4 separate regions of the Homo sapiens genome follow, and all the other regions are linked to region 4. The links are contacts of gene promoters, found by promoter capture Hi-C in blood cells and fetal thymus (Javierre and others, 2016). All regions are on one chromosome and are shown on one strand. The core of a region is centred on a gene start or on the middle of the fragment in contact, and the rest is flanking DNA. Distances in the headings are between cores, read along the strand shown.

Region 1 (4,662 bases), core at 2,095-4,594, 290 kb before region 4:
TTCCAACCTAGCTGTCACTTACTCTTTTAACTGCTGTAAGCCCCAGCTGCCTAATCTGTAAAACAGCATGAATAAGGACACCCATTTTTGTGTCACTGTCATGCGGATTTATGGAGGTAACATGTATCAAATATTTGGCAAATTCTGAGTTAACTGTTGTGTCCTGTTGTTCTGGTTTTTTTTGTTTGTTTTTTTGGAAACAGGGGTCTCTCTCTGTTGCCTAGGCTGGAGTGCAGTGGCACGATCACAGCTCACTGCAGCCTCAACCTCCTGGGCTCAAGCAATCCTCCCACCTCCCTAGTGGACCACAGGTGTGCACCATCACATCTGGCTTTTTTTTTTTTTTTTTTTTTTTGTAGAGCTGAGGTCTCCCTATGCTGCCCAGGCTGGTCTTGAACTCCTAGGCTGAAGAGATCCTCCTGCCATAGCATCCCGAAGTACTGGGATGACAGGTATGAGCCACCATGCCCAGCCTGTATAATGTTCCGGAACTCACAAGCATGAGGATTGCTAATGTCTCGCAAGCATAGCTTCTCAACAGGTTTTTCCAATAAAAGTGATCATCTTTCTGTATCCTTAAAAGCAAAGAAAAAGCAGGAAGGACTTGGAGGGGGGAAAAACAGGAGATCCCAATTAAAAAATTCAAAAAGCAATTCTTGTTACCAGTACTACAATAAAAAAAACTGTCCTTTTTTCACATATCTGTAATCATATCTAATTGTCAGCCTCGACATCACAGACACACAGGTGACTGGTGATCATGGGTGTCTTGCTATGAGTCTGCGTTCTTCACCATCTCTACCTGTGAAAACAGTATTGCCAGGGTTTGGGGTGGGAGAAAAATAAGAAAATTTTGTTTTCTACTGCACCAGATTCCCATCACTGTGTATAAGCAAGGCTCTGTGTCCGTGCCACTTTGGGGAGATGGAAGATACAGAGCTGGTGAACATCAGCTGCATGGTGAACAGCCCATAGGCTGGTGATTCAAAGAAGAGGAATGGGCGGCAGACGGTCACAGACAGCAACATCCATCACCCACGCAGCCCTGCTGCTTCCTGTAAATGCCGCAGAGGAGAGAAGATGAGATATACAAACACAAATCTGCCTTCGGATTTTACATCAAATTCCTGCCCATTTTTATTTTACTCATTATTAGCATATTCCCGGAAGGTAGAACAAAACAATTTCTCAAATGACTCAGAAGGCATATGAAATTATTGTTTATTAGCAGGGAGGGAAAGGAGGAAGGAAGGAGGTGGAAAAAAGAGACCCATGACAAAAAAAAACCTAACACAGGGCCGGGTGCGGTGGCTCACGCCTGTAATCCAAGCACTTTAGGAGGTGGAGGCGGGAAGATCACTTGAGGCCAGGAGTTTGAAACCAGCCTGGGCAGCATAGTGAGTCCCTTTCTCTACAAATAATTAAATTAATTAATTAGTTAATTAATAAATAAGCCAGATGTGGCAGTTCGCTCCTGTAGTCGCAGCTACTTGGGACACTGAGGCAGGAGGATTGCTTGAGCCATGATCACACCACTGCATTCCAGCCTGGGTGACAAAGCAAGACCTTATTTCAAAAAGCAAAAAAAGGGAGAAAAGAAAACTAACACAGTGTCTACAAAGGCTCAGAGGGACGGGACCTGCCTGGGTCACACTACACACCATGTTTCCCCTTCTTTCCCACATTTTAGCTAATTGATGATAAAAGGCTAATTAATGAAAATGATAGTATACCCAACATTCACTCAGAATCTCTTAGAAGAAAGTCATATGACACTAGACTTGGAGGATACAAAGAATCACTAAAACACCCATTCCTCAGGAATTTAAATTTATCTGAGAAGTCAGGAGATATATATGTACATACACACACACACACACACACACTCAAAACCAAATAACAATTGGATAGTTTACAAAACTGCTAAGGTTTGATCTACCTAGCCATTCCTGTTAGAAAGCTGTCCTGTAGATGAGCTTCCTCTTAAGCACAAAAATGGGAGTAAAAGCTTTGTGTTGTCACACTGATTCTAATGGTAAAAACTGAAATAACCTAAGTGCCTAACAATGAGAGAATGGTTTACATTGTGATACACCCATTCTGTGGAATATTGCCTCGCCGTTAACAAGGTTATTTATGAATCAGGTCCATTATATATGTACTGACACAGGAAGATGTCCAATGTATGCTCACAATAAAAAAGGCAAGTTATAGAATCTAGACCAGGATCTAACTGCGGTCTGTATTAGTGTGCTAGGGCTGCCATAACAAAATCACAGACTAGGTGGTTTGAGCAACAGAAATTCACTTTCTCACAATTCTGTTGGCTAGAAGGACAAGATCAAGGTGTCAGCAGGGCTGGTATCTTTTGAGACCTCTCTTTTTGGGTTGGCATCCCACACTCTTCACTCTGTGGAGATCTGTGTCCTGATCTCCTTGTGCAAGGACTCTAGTCATATTGGATTAGGGGCCACATTAATGACCTCATATTAACTTAATCACCTTATTCAAGGCCCTATCTCCAAATTTACTGACATTCTGAGGTACTAGAGATCAGGACTTCAACATATACATTTGGGAGGAGAGACAAAATTTAATTCATTATATGTTTTCTAAAAACCCTGTGTATATAGGGAGGATTTCCATTTTTAGTCTATATCTCCAAATTACTAGAAATTTTATAATGAGCATAAATTCATGTTATGCTAAATAAGCAAATCTTTCAAAAACTAATATGGTATTTTTACACCTGTTTGTCTAACATTCCAAATAAGCTTAAAAAAAAATCACAATAGCAGGGAGACTCAAGCCTGGTCTGTAAAGGACGTCTGGTGCAATCATCCACAGGTCTCAGCACTGGCCCTGATGAGGGATCACAGGTCAACACTGACACCAGACCCAGAGCTAGAATCAGCCAATAAAACAACCAAAAGGCAAAGAAGAACTGGGCAACTTTCAGGGAAAAGATAGAAGAAAAGCATCTTTCTGAATTTCCCTTTTCTTATAGGAGCTGTTTTTAAAAATTAGCAAATCATCTCCTCTTTTTAAAATGGATGATCTACAGAAAAATATACAATATGATATTGTATTAGTCCATTTTCACGCTGCTGATAAAGACATACTGGAGACTGGGTAATTTACAAAGAAAAGTAAGTTTCATGGACTCTCAGTTCCACATGGCTAGGGAGGCCTCACAATCATGGTGGAAGGCAAAAGGCACATCTTATATGGTGGGAGGCAAGAGAGAATGAGAGCCAAGTGAAAGGGGAAACCCCTTATAAATCATCAGATCTCGTGAGACTTATTCACTATCACGATAACAGTATGGGGGAACTGCCCCCATGATTCAATGATCTCCCACCAGGTCCCTCCCGCAACATGTGGGAATTGTAGGAGATACAATTCAAGATGAGATTTGGGTGGGGACACAACCAAACTATATCAGATATTGATACTAATAAAGTTTTACATTTAACAGGAGGAGGAGAAAGGGCATAGCAAATCTATTGGACACACAAGAAGAAAATCTTCTTGAAAAGAGCTATTTAGGGGCCAAGGTCCTACATAATTCAGTTACAGAAAAATTAAAATTGAGTCATGAAGCAGTAAATAAAAGGATTAAGAACATGAAAATAAAGATATGCAGAACATGGGCAGAATTACCAGAAAAAAAATGCACATACAGAAGACAGGCACAGATACCCATATATCACGTTATAAAGCTGGAACAAACAGAACAAGATTGATAAACAAGGGTATAGTTGAAGGGAGCTTTCAAAAAATATATAAATATGAATGGGATTAGAAAATAAAAGGGTTTCTAGTTTCTTCTTTACTAGAACACTTAAGATAGCTTCAAATATTTTTTCTTAACAATTGATAATTTTGCTAAGATAAAAAATTTTAAAGCTTATGGTCCATATTTTAAGCTAGGCTTCTTTACACAAGCTTGACTTTTTATTGTAGGAGTAAGTAAAGCCAATGTAAAGAATTTTGAAAGTATGAAGAGAAAAATGTCAATTACAATTTTTGGCCAATGATTGCACATTTCTTTCTAGACTTTTCTCTATGAAATATATACACAACACACACACACACACATTATGACATAAAGTGCCTACTAAATTTTGATTCCTACTTTCTTCCCCCATAAAATTCATAGTATGAAGTCCTCCTCACAATATAAAAAGCTGTATAAACATTTTTTGTGCCTCTATGATCAAGTGGATAGTGTCTAATATTTACCTGATATCTTACTTTAGTGCACTTGTTTCCAATTGATGGATTGCTATAAACAACTTCACAATGAAGGTCTTCCTGAAGAAATCTCAACCCGCGTCTCTTGAGTATTTTCTAAGGTCAGATTCCTAGATGTGGAATTAGTGGGCAAACCATAGGAACTTTTTTAAGCCTCTGGTGCATCTCACTTTCCTACATGAGGTGAACTGCTGATGTGCTGAACAGGGTAAAAACAGATTTGGGTGGCTATTTTTGACCATGGCTACCAAAAAGCCATCTTTTCTTACATTTGTGGAAACGTTTAAAAGAATTCTAAGGCCGGGAGCGGTGGCTCACGCCTGTAATCCCAGCACTTTGGGAGGCCAAGGCGGGTGGATCACCTGAGGTCCGGAGTTCGAGAACAGCCTAGCTAACATGGTGAAA
Region 2 (5,266 bases), core at 1,289-3,788, 320 kb after region 4:
TCTGATTTCTTTATATTGTTTTTCTGACTTCTCTTAAATTTCACTGAGCTTCTTTAATATCATAATATGATTGTTTTTCATAAATTTCTTTTTCATTGGAATCTGTTCGTGGAAAGTTAATTTGTTCCTTTGGAGGTGTCATATTTCCTTGTTTTTTTTTCATGTTTCTTGTGTCCTTATATTGATAGCTGTGCAGCTGGCATAATAGTCACTTCTTCCAATTTTTAAAATTTGCTTTCATTGGGGAGAAATTTTTTCTGAAGACACATCTATGCTATTGGTTGGGTAGGACACTTTGGCCTTGATTGTAGGTGTGTGCAGTAGTGTGGTCTCCATATGATTTCTTTGGATACAAACAGTGTCAGTAGTGCCTATGATTTCTTTAGTGGCTTAGGGGGCTGTTATTAGTAGGGGCTGTGGTAAAGTTTTGCTGTGAACAGGCATGTCAAGCAAGCCAATCCTTGGGTTCCAGTGGTGACAGCAGCAGTCCAAGCATCCCTGTCCTTGGGCCCCATGGTAGTATACACTGGCACTGGTGTTAGTGGGTTCAGGTCAGCTGATTATTGGGCCACCAGGAGGATTCCTTGGGTGTTGGCAGTCACAGCAGTGAGCCAAGTGGGTGGGAGGGTCCTTGGACCCCTGGGCATCAAGTATGGCCTGGGTGATGGCAGTAGCAGTGGCAGGACAATATCTGGCTATCCTGGTGTTGGTGCTTGGTGCTGACTGTGTTGGGCAGGGTGGGCTTGTCCCTAGGCCTGCAGCTGGGGCATACAAGTGGGTGGCAGCTGTGGTGGTAGTGGCAGGTTGGTGGGGCTGTCCTCAGGCCCCTGGGAGGGGTGCTTAGGTGCCAATAATGGTAGATGAAGTTGGGCAATCCCAAAGCACCCAGACATCATGCTCAGGCACTAGGGGAAGGGGGATGGAGCCGGGTCAGGTGGGCCTATCTTCAGGCCCTCTTGGTGGTACATGTAGGTGCTGGCTGTGGTAGGCCGGAATGTAGTGATCCCAGGCCATTGGCAGAATGCCTGGGTGGGAGCAGCAGCAGCTGTGCCAGGACCCTGCTGCTAGGGAGGGCAGGGTTGCTTTCAGTGGCAACAGTAAGGTGGCTGGGGAGCACACATTTTGGCCTCAGGTGGCTGCTATAAGTGAGATAGCCTTTTTTTGGGATGCCTTTAAATGCACAGTGGCCCTGCTACTGGAGGCAGCTGGGTTACTGACAATGGCTTGCATTTTGGCCTTGGCAGCAGAGCCAGCTGCGGTGGTGAATAAAGGTGGAGAATGTCAATGGGGCTCCAGGGATGTGAAGATACAGGGGCTATTGGGCCCTCCAGCAGAATACAGTATGATAGGGGCTGTGTTCTCAAAATGGTGCCTTCCTGTAGCTGCTTAGGATTTAGGAGCTGTCTAGGACCCTGTGTGAGCTTCCTCTCAGAATGAATACTGTGGGAAGTCTCCAGGCAGCTCCCTATGTTAGTCTCAGGGGCTGCTTGAGTTGAATGGCTCAGGGTCCGGGCTAGGATTTCAGGAGTCCATGGTAAGAAGGTGGACCTGCCGGGGGTTTCTCATTCACCCTTTTCCCACATTGGAGAACTTCTCTAGGCTCCCAGCAGATGCCTGCTGAGCAGGCTGCCTCCCTTCCCCCTCCTTCCTTGTCTTACATGTTTCCTGTCACTTCTCTCTTAAATTCCAGCATTCTCTCTCTCTCTCTCTCTCTCTCTCTCTGTCTCTCTCTCTCTGTCTCTCTCTCTCTCTCTCTCTCTCTCTCTCTCTCTCTCTCTCTCTCGGTGATCTATTTGAAGTGTGATTATGCAGTCACTATCTTGGTTCTTTGTGGAGAAGGCAGCTCCGGATGCCTCTGGTCAGCCATTTTGAGGCCCCTCCTTGGTTGATTAGATTAATAATCTGGCCAGCTGGGATACAGTCATGTATCTGTCTTTCATGTATTTGAATAGTTTCTATATACTCTGTCCCTTTAGTTCAATAGACAAATGTGCATTCTTTTAAAAGTAACAATAGCAACTCTGGTGAAGAAAATTTGAGTTTAAACCAGAAGTGGGTTTACCATGAAACCAATGAAGCTTGTTTCAAGACCCCTTATTTGAACTTGAAGTGTTCCCATGTCCATATGTTCTCATAAAATTCACAGGAATATATTTTAACTGCAAATCTTTAAGACCATTGTTTCTTTCCACTTCAACTTCCCCTTGTTAGGGTTAGGTAGCATCGAAGAAGCCACGGGCATTTTTGGACCGTGTTTAAGGAAGTTGATCTTTGGTTTTGGTTTAGTGAAATATTTATGCAGTTCACAGATTCTTCCGTGTAGAGGTTAGCTGTCCCAGTGCAGAAAACAATTTTCAGTCCTAATCTTACCACTCCCTATATCTGTGCATCTAACTTTATAAAAGGAAGGTGAAGGGCCCCATATAACCCTCATAATATGCCACATTATTAGGGACACCAAAGATAAGCTGGTCAGTGAGTGTCGTCAATTCAGAGTACTTAAAATTACTCCCTGCAACAAACAAATCCCTAAAATGCCTTGAAATTTTACAGCCCATATATGAAATTCACTTGAGAGAAGTGTTTCCAAAATTAATAATAATCCTAAAAATGTACGCGCCAATACCAACAAATTGTGAAGCCAAAAGGAACCTTTCCATACTATTAATTTTTTAAAAATATGTTGTTTGATCCACCATGCTAGAAGAAATACTGATTTCTTCTTCTAGTCTCTCCCAGAAAGTATGACAAAATTCTTGTGGCATGAATAGACAATCAAATAGTATGCAGACAAATAATTTTATTGAGGGGTATGTCAGATAGCTAATTAGTTGAAAAAAATTTTTTTCTGGATTTTGAGATCGTTCCTGAATTTATCAACTTTAAATGTTTTGTTGTGGCAGTGGTTTATTTTATAATTCTAAATGAATACTTAACTTCTTACCAAGCAGTTTTAATTATTTTTCTTAAAAAGGACCTCCAAAATGGTATAAGCTTCAGGTCCATGGGCTTGCCCCTGCTTGAAGTGAGTACCTCACCCACATACTCTAATAGTGGATGGGAAAGAACCTAATGGATCTGCGCTTTACAACTGCCTCAGTCTCCTGAAAACCAAATCTGCTTATTATTAAGTCAGCAAATGCACAGTTGATGGATTGTAATGACTCTGAAGGAATCTGTGTGGCCAGAAAGATAAATAATACATTGTTTAAAGGTTTTTGAATTCTTATAATGTTTTGGAAGAAGACATTTTTTAAAATACAAAAGAAATTAAGAGGGAGGATGTATCATGGTCAGAGACAAAAATACATAAACAACCAATTATGATTAACCATGCTAGATGAAAGGTGATTTGTCTCTTATTTCCATCTATGGGAAATATTACAAAAACATCATCATGTGAAGAGTCAATTAAGCAGATACCATCTAACAGAGGCAGTCTATCTTGGCTCAATATACCCTTAGAATCTGTTTGTTTCTTTTCAGCAAAGGTACTGCTGCACGTAGGATGGTACATGGCTTCAAATAGATGATGCGAATGGCATATGGAAGAAATTAGCCTGTTTCTTTATTGTTAACACATCCGGTTCTCCATACATGTCGAATCTCACTCCCAGCTTTAGCCCTTTATAGGTATAAAGGGAGAAGTCGATTCCTATGTTGGTAGATGTGCCCCTTTGTCTTATGCACTTTCTCTCCTGCACCACTCAATATTTATAATGCAGCATCTGAATCTGTTTCTTTAAAATTCTCTTCTCTTAAGGCTTTTAGTCATACCTTAGATACAGGTTTACAAAAAGAAAAATTTTGAGGCTGTAAAAATTTGATAAACACTTGTTTATACCACATCGAACTGATTTCTTTACATCTTTGTAACAGTACTTCTCAGAGCCTTTAATGAGTAGAAAATATAGAATGTAGTTTGGAATACTTCCCAAATTATTTGATGACAAAAACTTTTTTTTGAGGAACTAATATTTTAGAGACCATAATTTCAGGAAATTCTGCTTCAGACTATAATGAAATGAGACAATGGAATTTAAATGCTTTAACATAAAAACCAAAAAATTATATGGTACTTTGATAATAACTATTATTATTATTATTAAGACTACCATGTTCAAAGGAATCAATTGTTTCTCTCATTCTTTTCTAATAGGTGTCATTTAAACTGTATGTATAGATCTGAAAAGAAGATGCACTAAGACAAACATGTTTGCTTGCATAATTTTCTGCTGTAATAGTTTTGTTTTACAAAGAGATTGAGAAAAATTATACAAGCTTCTAGCTATTGAAATTTTTCCTGTGGTCTCAGTAGTTTTCACTATGTTTTTAAGATTCTTCACTGGATTTATCAAAGAACAGTGACTATCAATGCAACCCCTATCAGAATTCCAATACTTTTTTTGCAAATGTAGAAAAATTCATTCTAAGATTCATGTGGAATCTCAAGGGGCCCTGAATAGCCAAAACAAATTTGGAAAAGAAGAACAAAGTTGGAGCATTCACACTTCCTGATTTCAAAACATATTACAGAGCTACAGAAATCAAAACAATGTGGCACTGTCACAAGCACAGACAAATAGACCAACGAAATAAAATAGAGAGCCCCAGCTGGGCATAGTGGCTCACGCCTGTAATCTCAGCACTTTGGGAGGCTGAGAAGGGCGGATCACCTGAGGTCAGGAGTTCCAGAGCAGCATGGCCAACATGGTGAAACCCCATCTCTACTAAAAATACAAAAATTAGCCAGGTGTGGTGGCACACACCTGTAATCCTAGCTACTCAGGAGGCTGAAGCAGGAGAATTGCTTGAACCCAGGAGGTGGAGGTTACAGTGAGCCAAGATTGCGCCAGCACACTGCAGCCTGGGTGACAGAGTGAGACTTTGTATCAAAAAAAAAAAAAAAAAAAAAAAAATAGAGAGCCCGGAAATAAACCCATGTGTATAATCAAATGATCTTTGACAGGGGTGCCAAGGTCACTCAAGGGGGAAAGGACAGAGAAGTGGAGAAATGGTACTGAGAAAACTGGATATACATGTGCAAAAGGATGAAGCTGACTTTTATTTTATACCATATACAAAAATTAAATCAAAATGAATTAAAGACCTAAAAGTAAGACCTAAAATTATACAACTCATAGAAGAAAATATATAAGTGAAGCTTCATGACACTAGACTTGGCAATGATTTCTTGGATACAATACCAAAAGCACTGGCAACAAAAGCAAAATAGACAAATGGGACTGCATCAAACCTAAAAACT
Region 3 (4,547 bases), core at 1,603-4,102, 370 kb after region 4:
TGGGTTCTTAGAGTGCTGGCACCCTCTGTCTTCTAGGGGTACAGATCCCCATTCCTTTTCGGCTGTGCACTGTCGGCACTAAGAAAAAAAATCTCCCCCATGGGAGACAGAAGTGCAGCTTGCTTCCCCTTCACCTGCCGCAAGCCATCCTCAAACTTTAAGGGTACAAACGCAAAAAGAAAGAAAGAAAGGAAAAGAAATGCTGAACCAGGAAAGGATCATTGCAGCAGGAGACGGCAGGGGGGAGGGGAGGATTGTGTCTCAGTGGCTTTGGCCTTGGGGGTGGTTGCCCCTCTTCAAATGCACAAATGGTCAAGAGTGGCCAGGGGTCCCACTCATGCCTGAAGTTTCCTCACCTGGGACTTGGAGTTCATTGGGCAAAGTTAGTTTTGGAGTTGCCAGAGGGACAGGCGGCTTTCCAGGTGGGCTCACAGCCGTTGCCGACTGTGACTAGCTGGGTCCGAGCCCTTACCAGAGTGGCATCCAAGTGGGACTTCTTTTATCTTCATTGCCCAACTCTGTGGCAGCCAGTGGCTCTCCTGAGCAGCTGCTTTACAAAGCAATGCAAAATCTGCACACAACCTGGAAGGAACATTTAGATTTGGAAGTTACAGATCCAAATGGCTGATTTGAGGGAAAAACAAGTGTAGATACTCTGATGCACACAAGAAATCAAAGACATGTCAAACCACAGCAGGTTGGGCAGGGAGATGCTTCCTTTGCTTTATGACAGAGGCCTCCTATGGACTCAGCCTAAATCCTCTTTTTGGAGAGGTGCATTTTTCTGCCTTGGTCTCTGAGAAGACACCTTGGCTTTTATCCCAGGCCTAGCTGCAGAATAGAGGTGCTGAGAAGGGAGGAAGGCAGGGAGTCAGACAACCCCAAACCAAATGTGCTCCTGTGGGCAGTGGGGAGAAGAGCCCAGAGCAGTCACAGAGGCTGGGGACTCACGGCTTTGCTACTTGTTGCTGGAGGCTCCGGCGCTGGCAGACTGGCTGCTCTCTCGCAGTACAGGCGACTGAGGCCCAGGAGACAAAACGTCCCAAATGAGCTGGTCAAACATTTGTACAACTTTTCCAGCTTTTACAAAGAAGTCCTTCTCTACACAATCTACACTTGGAGATGAACTTGGGAGACAAAGCCTGGAGAGTCCATTGAAACTCACACTTTAGCTCAGCCCAGACAAAGCTCCAGCTCGGAGCAGCTTGATGTGAACAAAGGAAGGCAACCTTTTTATAATTCAAGGAGAAAAGAAGAGAAAACAGCACCACAAAAGGCTGAGAATAGACATTATGGGCTTGCAATGAGGGATGAATTATTCAATGAGCCCCAATAGCTGCTGCGCCGGGAAGTTTTATGGACTCTTCAGCGTGGAAAAAGTGGCCATTTCACCTACAAAATGTTTCTAGTCTTTTGGGCTGTCTAGCTGGGCCGGCTGCTATTCAAGGGCAATTGCTACATTTTTAAAATCAGAGTATTCTCCCCAGTGGGGGCTGTGCTGTTGGAAACACACACACACACACACACACACACACACACACACACACACACACACACACCTTGGAGGCTGAAGCCTGATTTAATTTGGGGTTGTCAAGGAAGATGCAGTGTCTGTCTCTTCAGCATCTCTAGCTCCTTTTTAGATGAGCCTCGGAGGACAAGAGGGGCCCAGAGAAAGGACAGAGTGAGGTGCAGTTTGAAGTCTAGAAACTTCAAAAACTCCTTTCTGTTGTTCGGGCATCAAAAATCCCAGGCTGCCCGCTTGTAAAATAGAATGAATGTTGATAAAGCGTTCTTAGCGCCCTGGCAGAGGGGGAGAAGAAAGCTGAGGGAGGAGGAACTTTGGGGTCCCCTGACCAGTGTGGTGTATTCTTGCCCTTTTCCAGTTAGTGGGTCTGGTGGGTGCTGCTGAGCCTGGCTTTTCAGGGGAATCTTTGGCCTGAGGTCTGCTTGGCAGACACTAGGACAAAAGGGTTGAGCCACTTTGAATGAGGTCAGAATCACCTCATTCTTCTCTCCAGTGGCTTTCTCCCAGATGGTCCTCTTAACTTTCCCAACTTTCCCTTTTCCCTCGCTCAATTCAAGAGCTGAGCCGCTAGCGGTGCTGGTGCGCTCAGGCCCGCGCTCCCTAACGGGCGCGCGCTAAGCATGATGCACCCTTGCTGGATACATCCCTCCAGCTCCATAGCCCAGGAGAAAGGAGAGGGCTGGGCGGTTCACTAACACGAACCCCGCCCGCTATCCCCAATCCCCCTAGCCCCTGGCCCGCGCTGAGACTGGAGCAGAGGCAGCCGGGGGAGCCAAGTCCTGGCCGAGGCATCCGGGGCTGTGGGCACCGCCCTGCGCAGCGGCCGCTCAATGGGCGCCTCTGTTCCTCCCCCGGCTCGGCCTAGCGGGCCCGCGGGCGCCGCCACAATGGGCTGGGCCCCCACTCCTGTGCTCTGCGCCAAAGCGCCGCGCCGCTCCGCCCCCTCCCCTACTCTCTGGCCGGCTCGAAGCTTAGCTCGCCGGGCTGCAGCCGACTCAATTGCCTCCTTTATGTCCTTCTCACTTTCATCTAGACACAGCCCGCCTCCCCCCTTCTTCTCCTCTTTTTTTTTTTCCTCCCTTGCCTGAGGCTCACATTAGTGAAATTTCTGCAACCTCCCCCCATTTTTTTCTTATTTTAAAGAAAGCCCTTAACACAAAAGCGGTGACTAATCAATAGAAACTGCCCCTTCATCATCTCCTCCTCCTCCTCCACCCCTCCTTCTCCCCCTCCAGCAGGGTGACGCTTTTCCTGTTTGTGAGTTTTGGGAAACATTTTTGCTTTGTGCAGTAATGGAATTAGAGGACAGTTGAGGACTGTAAATGGACACGCGACTGCAAGACTCTCGCTTAAATATTTAGATGCAAAGTTACAATTACTGACTTGTTGTAGCAGCTTTGAAGTGGCAGCTCCGGAGCGCAGGGGGAGAGAGGCCAGATTGCCAAATTGATGTTTTGATTGGGGACTGGCGATACACTCTCATAAGACTTTCCTCCCTTTTAAAATCACAAGTGAGCGTGGGAGGTTTGCAACAATTTAAAAGATCCCACTAAGAGATCTCAAGCATAGGTCTGTTGGGGGCTTATATTCCTTTCCTATCTGTTCCCTCTTATTTGACGTTTACAAAAAAGAGTGCTTTCTTAAAAAATTGGAGAAAGTAAAAGTGACGAAAGCTTTGCTCAAGTTTCCATTTTATTTGTAAGCTTGTCAGCTTTTGTAAAGTTAACGAGGACGACTTCAGCTTTTTGGGGGGGAGGTAGGAGAAGATTAATCAGTTTAAAACGCAGAAAAGCATTAAAGGTATTTGGAGTATTTTATTTCCAGTGAAATCATGAAAAGAGCACTCTTATCATTAAGGGACTGCTGAAATCAAGGAAAACGAAGGGCCGTTTCTTTCCCGGTTAGTGAGCAGGAAGGGCCATTTTGGTCCAAGGTTGGGAGGAGGGGAAGGCGGGGGACGAACTTTCCCATAGATTAAAATCATTGGGTATAAGATCATAGGTTTATGGCATCGGATCCTTTATTCAAGTGGACAGACCAGCCCACTTTCCAAGTCCATTTGTTAGGATCACGAATTTGACTTCAATGTCGTTTCGATTCTATAGAGAAAACTTCATATTTTCTGAAGTCCTTGCAAAACTCAGCAAAGAAATATCATCCATTTAAAAAATATTGGAAGTATCAGAACTTGAATTCTATTAGAACACCACGCCGTGTTCTATTTATTAATGTCGCGGTAACAATTTTCCTGCTGGAACGATTTGAAAGGAAACACCAGAGTTCAGCTCCTAGCTTTTTCTTTTTCGCTTGTTTGGTTTGGTTGACTGCTGTGTGCTTACCTTCTAGAGCTTTATTGAAAACATGCAGATTTTCTAATTAATGCTTGAAATCGTATGTTTATTTTGGGGTTTGATTTGATTGTTGATAGCACCGGAACCAGGACGTAGGGGCTTCTACTGAGTAATAATTACTGAAGGGTCATTTAAAAGTCCCCAGGGCTGAGCAATAAAACCCACCCGGGCGGTGAGGCGGAACCAGTCAGCGCGCGGCGGTTCAGGCGAGTGGAATATGCAGAAATCGATCACGTGAATAGGAGTGTGGCCGCTAAATCCGAATGGCTTCAGCATCCATGAATGCATATATTTTGAGAACAACAACAAAAAATTCTTCCTATGAGACTAAATGTTTAAGTTGTACATAAGTAGATGGCCAATGAAAATGAAAAGCTGCAACAGTAACAACAAACAAACGGTGAGAAATGAGAGTTTGGCTTGGGCTGGAACAGAAAATGTTTTACGTTCGATTGGATTCTGTATGACAGGTAACTTATCTATGAGGGTAAATAAAGATTAAAGAACCATTTAGAATGTACATATATAACTAACAAGACACTAAAAGGCAATTAAGCAGTCAGTTTAATGTCTTATCTCACTGGCTGCTCTGGGGTTGTTTTACAAGTAGGAATTAAAATCTGAAAAGGAAGTTTTCAGCAGCTCTGGCCAAATATTGATTAAGTAGC
Region 4 (4,726 bases), core at 2,127-4,626:
GCTTACCATTCTATTTATGTATGCCTAACAATATACTCTTTAGGTTAGCCTGGTTTTTAGTGTTTATATTAATGGCATCAAGGATACATATTCTTCTGTGATTTACATTTTTCCCTCAAAATTACAACGTAAGATTTATCCAAGTTGATACATGCAGGTGTAGTTCATTTGTTTACATAACTGTATGGTGTTTCACTGTATACATTTATCATAACTGTCTACCCATTCTAGTACTGACAAACATTGGGTTGTTCCTAGATTTCTGTTATAATGAACAATGTAACCATGAAAATTCTTATTTGAGTCTTCTGGTGCACATGGGTAAGAGTTTCTCTGGGGGAATATTCCTAGCAGTGCAATTGCTGGGTAGTAGGATATGGACATGCCCCATTTTTCTAGGTAAGGCCATATTTTCCAAAGAGGTTATATCAATTTATACTCCCAAATTCTTGCCAAGATCTGATTTTTTTCAGACTTTAAGACTTCTAGCAGTCTCCTAGGTATAAACATGTATGTCCTTATAATTTTTATTTGCATCTCCTTAATTTCTGCTGAGCTGAGAGTTTTTCCATGCCTTTTGTCCAGCTCGTCTTTCCTTCCTAGGAAATGCTGCCACCTCATTCCTGCTTTCAGTCTGGCCCCAAAGTTAGATGAAAGAAGCATGTACCTACATTTTGTGATATACGATCTCATCATTTTCCATGTACCTTTCCTTTCAGTTAGCTAATGCCATTTGTGATGAGCCCTAGTGGCCTAGTTTCCTCTTTTCCATTAGAATCTTCTAACAGTTTAGCTTCTCACAGAGAAGGGACAGAGTACCTGTAACATGTGCAATGATAAAAAGTAGGATAGGTCAGTTGGGGGATGTGAGAGATGGGAACAAAATGCCCCTTGGTGGTCTGAGACTAGCAGAAAACTAACTAGGAGGATTAAAAAAAATGACAGTTGCCCCATTTCCAGGACCTCTGACATGATAAGAACTATACTAGTTATTTATGAGTATTATTTCAAATTCTTACAATAATTCTTTTTTAGTTTTTAAGACAAGGTCTCACTTTGTCACCCAGGCTGGAGTGCTGTGGCGCGATCACAGCTCACCACAGCCTCAACCTCCCGGGCTCAAGTGATCCGCGTAGATGGGATCATAGGTGTGTTGCCGCCATGCCTGGCTAATTTTTCTTTTTGTTTAGAGATGGGGTCCAACTCTGTTGCCCACGCTGGTTTTGAAATCCTGGGCTCAAGTAATCCTCCCACCTCGGCCTCCCAAAGTGCTGGAATTACAGATATGGGACACAATAATTCTTTAAGGTGTATATTATTATCCCTATTTTATGGATGAGGAAACTGAGGTTCAGAGGCCACAGAACACTTTGGAGTGCCCAAAGCAGAGCAGGTCAGCAGGAAGTCCTTTGGTTATTTATTATTACTATTTTGTTGTTGTTGTTGTTATTGCTTTTAAGACAGAGTCTTGCTCTGTCACCCAGGCTGGAGTGCAGTGGCGTGATCTTGGCTCACTGCAACCTCTGCCTCCTGGGTTAAAGTGATTCTCAGTCCTCAGCCTCCCCAGTAGCTGGGATTACAAGTGCCCACCACCACACCCAGCTAATTTTTGTAATTTTAGTAGAGATGGGGTTTTATCATGTTGGCCAGGCTGGTTTCCAACTCTTGACCTCAAGTGATCTGCCCACTTCAGCCTCCCAAAGTGTTGGTATTACAAGTGTGAGCCATCATGCCTGGCACTAGTCCTTTGCTTATTAATTGAGCAGAAAGCACCAATTTTAGGTGGAAAGCTGTATTTTGCATTGGGGATGTTTGCCATTTATGGGGTGTTGCCAATCTGTTATGTTGGTCACTGGGAAGGGACTGCCTTCCCATGGAGGGGAGCTAATACTGTATAGTGAAAAACTGCTTGATTAATAGTTAGGGTGGCTTACATCTGGCTCAGCTTTTCTCCCCTCATGTGAAGGACTTTGGAAGAAGCCCTCACTCACTGTACAGTAGAAAGGATTAGGGCAAGGCTCCCCCTGGAACTGCCAGTTTGTGCCTTAGTTTCATTACCTGTAAAACAGGGATAATGGTACCTATCTTGATGTATTAGTTTCCCTTGGCTGCTGAAACAAATTACCACGAACTTGCTGACTTAAACCATAAATTTATGCTCTCACAGTTCTGGAGGCCAGAAACCCAAAATCAGTTTCACTGGGCCCAAATCAGCATGCATTATAGGGCTGCCCCATGGGCTGGGCGTGAATCTGTCCTTGTCTCTGTTTATTTCAGGGATACATGTGCAGGATGTGAAGGTTTGTTACATAGGTAAATGTATGCCATGGTGGTTTGCTGCCCAGATCATCCCATCACCTAAGTATTAAGCCCAGCATCTATTAGCTATTCTTGATGCTCCCCGCTCCTCCACCCCCTCACCCCCAGTGTGTGCTTGTCTCTTTGTTTCTGGTGGCTGCTGGCATCCTTGGGTTGTGGCTGCCATACTCCAATCTCTGCCACCGTGGCTAAATCGTCTCTCTCAACCTCCCTTTTATGATTTGATGAGGATACTGTGATTCCATTTAGTGTTCGTCTTTCGAATCCAGGATAATCTTCATCTCAAAATCCTTAACTTAACCTGCAAAGACGCTGTTTCCATATAAAGTTACATTTAGAGGTTGCAGGGATTAGGGTCTGATATTATTGGGGGCCGTTATTCAGCCTATTACACTCAGGGTTGTTTTAAGGAGGAAATTTAATGCTGGCAGAGGGCTGAGCACAGCCCACTGACAGCAGAGAGCACTGAGCAAATAGACAAAAAAAGAGGTCTCTTACAATGCCTCCCTTATAGGGCTGCCGTAAAGTTCAAACAAAGCACAGGTATATCACTTATACGAGTAGAGGAGAGATTAAAGAATGAAGTAAAAACTGAGGTCTGTTAACAGCCCCTCTCCCGCCGCCAGGATTTGCACACCTTTCTCTGCAGGAAGCCTTGAACCCTCTCCACTCGCATTTCCACCACCTCCAGGCAAGATCTCCCACGTGGAGGCCCCACCCCCTCCCTGACGCGCCCCACTCTCGCCCCGCCCACCTGGTGGGCGTCCCCGGCCGTTAGCGCCCTGGAAGCATCCGGGACTTCAGGGTCAGTACATTACAATGCCTGACAAATCCTAGCCAGTTCTATCAAATTATATCTTTCTTACAGGCTTTTAAGCTATTAGTCTCATAAAGATACATTTAATCAGCGAGGTAATGGCATGATGAGTGTTTTTAGGTTAAAAAGAGAACAGGAACTGTTGCCAGCAGAATGGCGATATTCAAGACAACACGCACAAGAAGAGGCGGGTCCTACGCGCTTCGCTAGGGAAGCCCGGGTCAGCTCGCTGCGCAGGCGCAGTGAGTTCGACACACCATGCCGACTGTCAGCGTGAAGCGTGATCTGCTCTTCCAAGCCCTGGGCCGCACCTACAGTGAGTGGCGGCCCTATACGTTGGGCCCTACGCCTCTTCTCGGAGGCAGGGCCTCCCTCCAAAAGGGCAATGTGGCGACATTCATGCCTTCCTGAAGGTTTTGGCTCCGGGAGGCCGGGGTTTACGCGGGAAGGCCGATGATGGTGGCGGTCCGGCTGGGCTGTGGTAGCCTCGGAACCGGCATCGCAGCGGTGCCACTGCTTGTGCCCGGCTTGCCGTGTCATTCATTCAGCGATCTGCCATCGAGTGCCTACAGCGTGCCTGGCACCGACATCCAAGCCAGGGGATAGAACAGGAAGGAAACCCGGGGTTGCATCCCGAGCGTAGCCAGTTAATTGCAATAGCAGCGCTGTGGGAACTCAGTTTATAAGGGGGTAGGAGGAGAGATTTGTGCAGCGGGGTGGAGAACGGCATTCCACCTGTCTTCGTTTTATTAATGTTTCCTGAGCGCCTGTTATGTGTCAGGCACTGTTCTAAGAGCTTAGGACTAGAGCTGTGCACACGACACGTCAGGTCCACGTTCTGTCTGATGGAGGCAGACAATTAACCAGCACGTTAATAAAATGATTTCGGATAATGTTAAATGCCATCAAGGAAAGAAAAGGTGTTGTGCCAAGAACAACTTTAGATAGGGTGGTAACATTTGATCTGAGACCTGAATGGGGAGTATTAAATGGGTGTAGACTTCATTCTACATTTCATCTTTTAATCAGTTCTAAAAACACAACCATTGAAAAAAAGGAGGGAGATATTAAATGCAGTTATCAGTTACCTCACAGCCGTAGCAGCTGCCCCACCCTATTTTTTTTTTTATTTTTATTTTTTGAGACGGAGTCTGCACTCCCAGGCTGGAGTGCAGTGGCGCGATCTCGGCTGACAGCAACCTCCGTCTCCCTGTTCAAGCAATTTTCTGCCTCAGCCTCCCGAGTAGCTGGGATTACAGGCGTCCGCCATCGCGCCCGAGTAATTTTTTTGTATTTTTAGAGAGACCAGGTTTCACCATCTTGGCCAGGCTGGTCTTAAACTCCTGACCTCGTGATCCACCTGCCGCGGCCTCCCAAAATGCTGGGATTACAGGCGTGAGCCACCGCGCCCGGCCCCCACCCCATAATTTTTAGCTTGTATAAAGGCTGGACCAACTGGTTCGTGAGAGCTGTTTTTTTTGTTTTTAGGGCTCAGTGTGTTAACAAAGGCCTAATTGGTTTAATGACAGCCACCGCTTCCCAGAATAAGATTACTGTTACAGTGAAAATAAAGCTGGCTTTTAAGAATCT

Evidence for each region. The method cuts DNA at HindIII sites, captures the fragments that hold promoters and counts their contacts. A CHiCAGO score of 5 or more calls a contact.
Region 1: a fragment that was not itself captured here is called in contact with the fragment with the promoter of FARSB in region 4 in 2 of 17 cell types (fetal thymus and monocytes); the score reaches 6.2 in fetal thymus.
Region 2: a fragment that was not itself captured here is called in contact with the fragment with the promoter of FARSB in region 4 in 1 of 17 cell types (activated CD4 T cells); the score reaches 5.1 in activated CD4 T cells.
Region 3: a fragment that was not itself captured here is called in contact with the fragment with the promoter of FARSB in region 4 in 2 of 17 cell types (megakaryocytes and monocytes); the score reaches 5.7 in megakaryocytes.

Annotation. Positions count from the first base shown.
Region 1 is chr2:222,947,472-222,952,133 of GRCh38, reverse strand. No RefSeq gene overlaps it. Among named protein-coding and RNA genes, the nearest start is that of ACSL3-AS1, 30 kb to the right of the region's middle. The HindIII fragment of the contact is 1,135 bases long and covers 2,777-3,911 here.
Region 2 is chr2:222,329,290-222,334,555 of GRCh38, reverse strand. All of the region lies in intron 1 of CT75 (cancer/testis associated transcript 75), which reads right to left. Among named protein-coding and RNA genes, the nearest start is that of RNF228, 12 kb to the right of the region's middle. The HindIII fragment of the contact is 916 bases long and covers 2,081-2,996 here.
Region 3 is chr2:222,288,982-222,293,528 of GRCh38, reverse strand. All of the region lies in intron 4 of PAX3 (paired box 3), which reads left to right. Among named protein-coding and RNA genes, the nearest start is that of CCDC140, 6.9 kb to the left of the region's middle. RefSeq lists enhancers at 1,844-2,757, 2,758-3,671. The HindIII fragment of the contact is 703 bases long and covers 2,501-3,203 here.
Region 4 is chr2:222,654,742-222,659,467 of GRCh38, reverse strand. It overlaps FARSB (phenylalanyl-tRNA synthetase subunit beta), which reads left to right and starts at 3,376. Exons shown (of 17, transcript NM_005687.5): 1 at 3,376-3,452. The coding sequence starts at 3,395. LOC124907985 (a long non-coding RNA gene) reads right to left here and starts at 3,035. Exons shown (of 2, transcript XR_007088095.1): 1 at 2,957-3,035. RefSeq lists a silencer at 2,953-3,149 and an enhancer at 3,266-3,315. The HindIII fragment of the contact is 12,443 bases long and covers 1-4,726 here.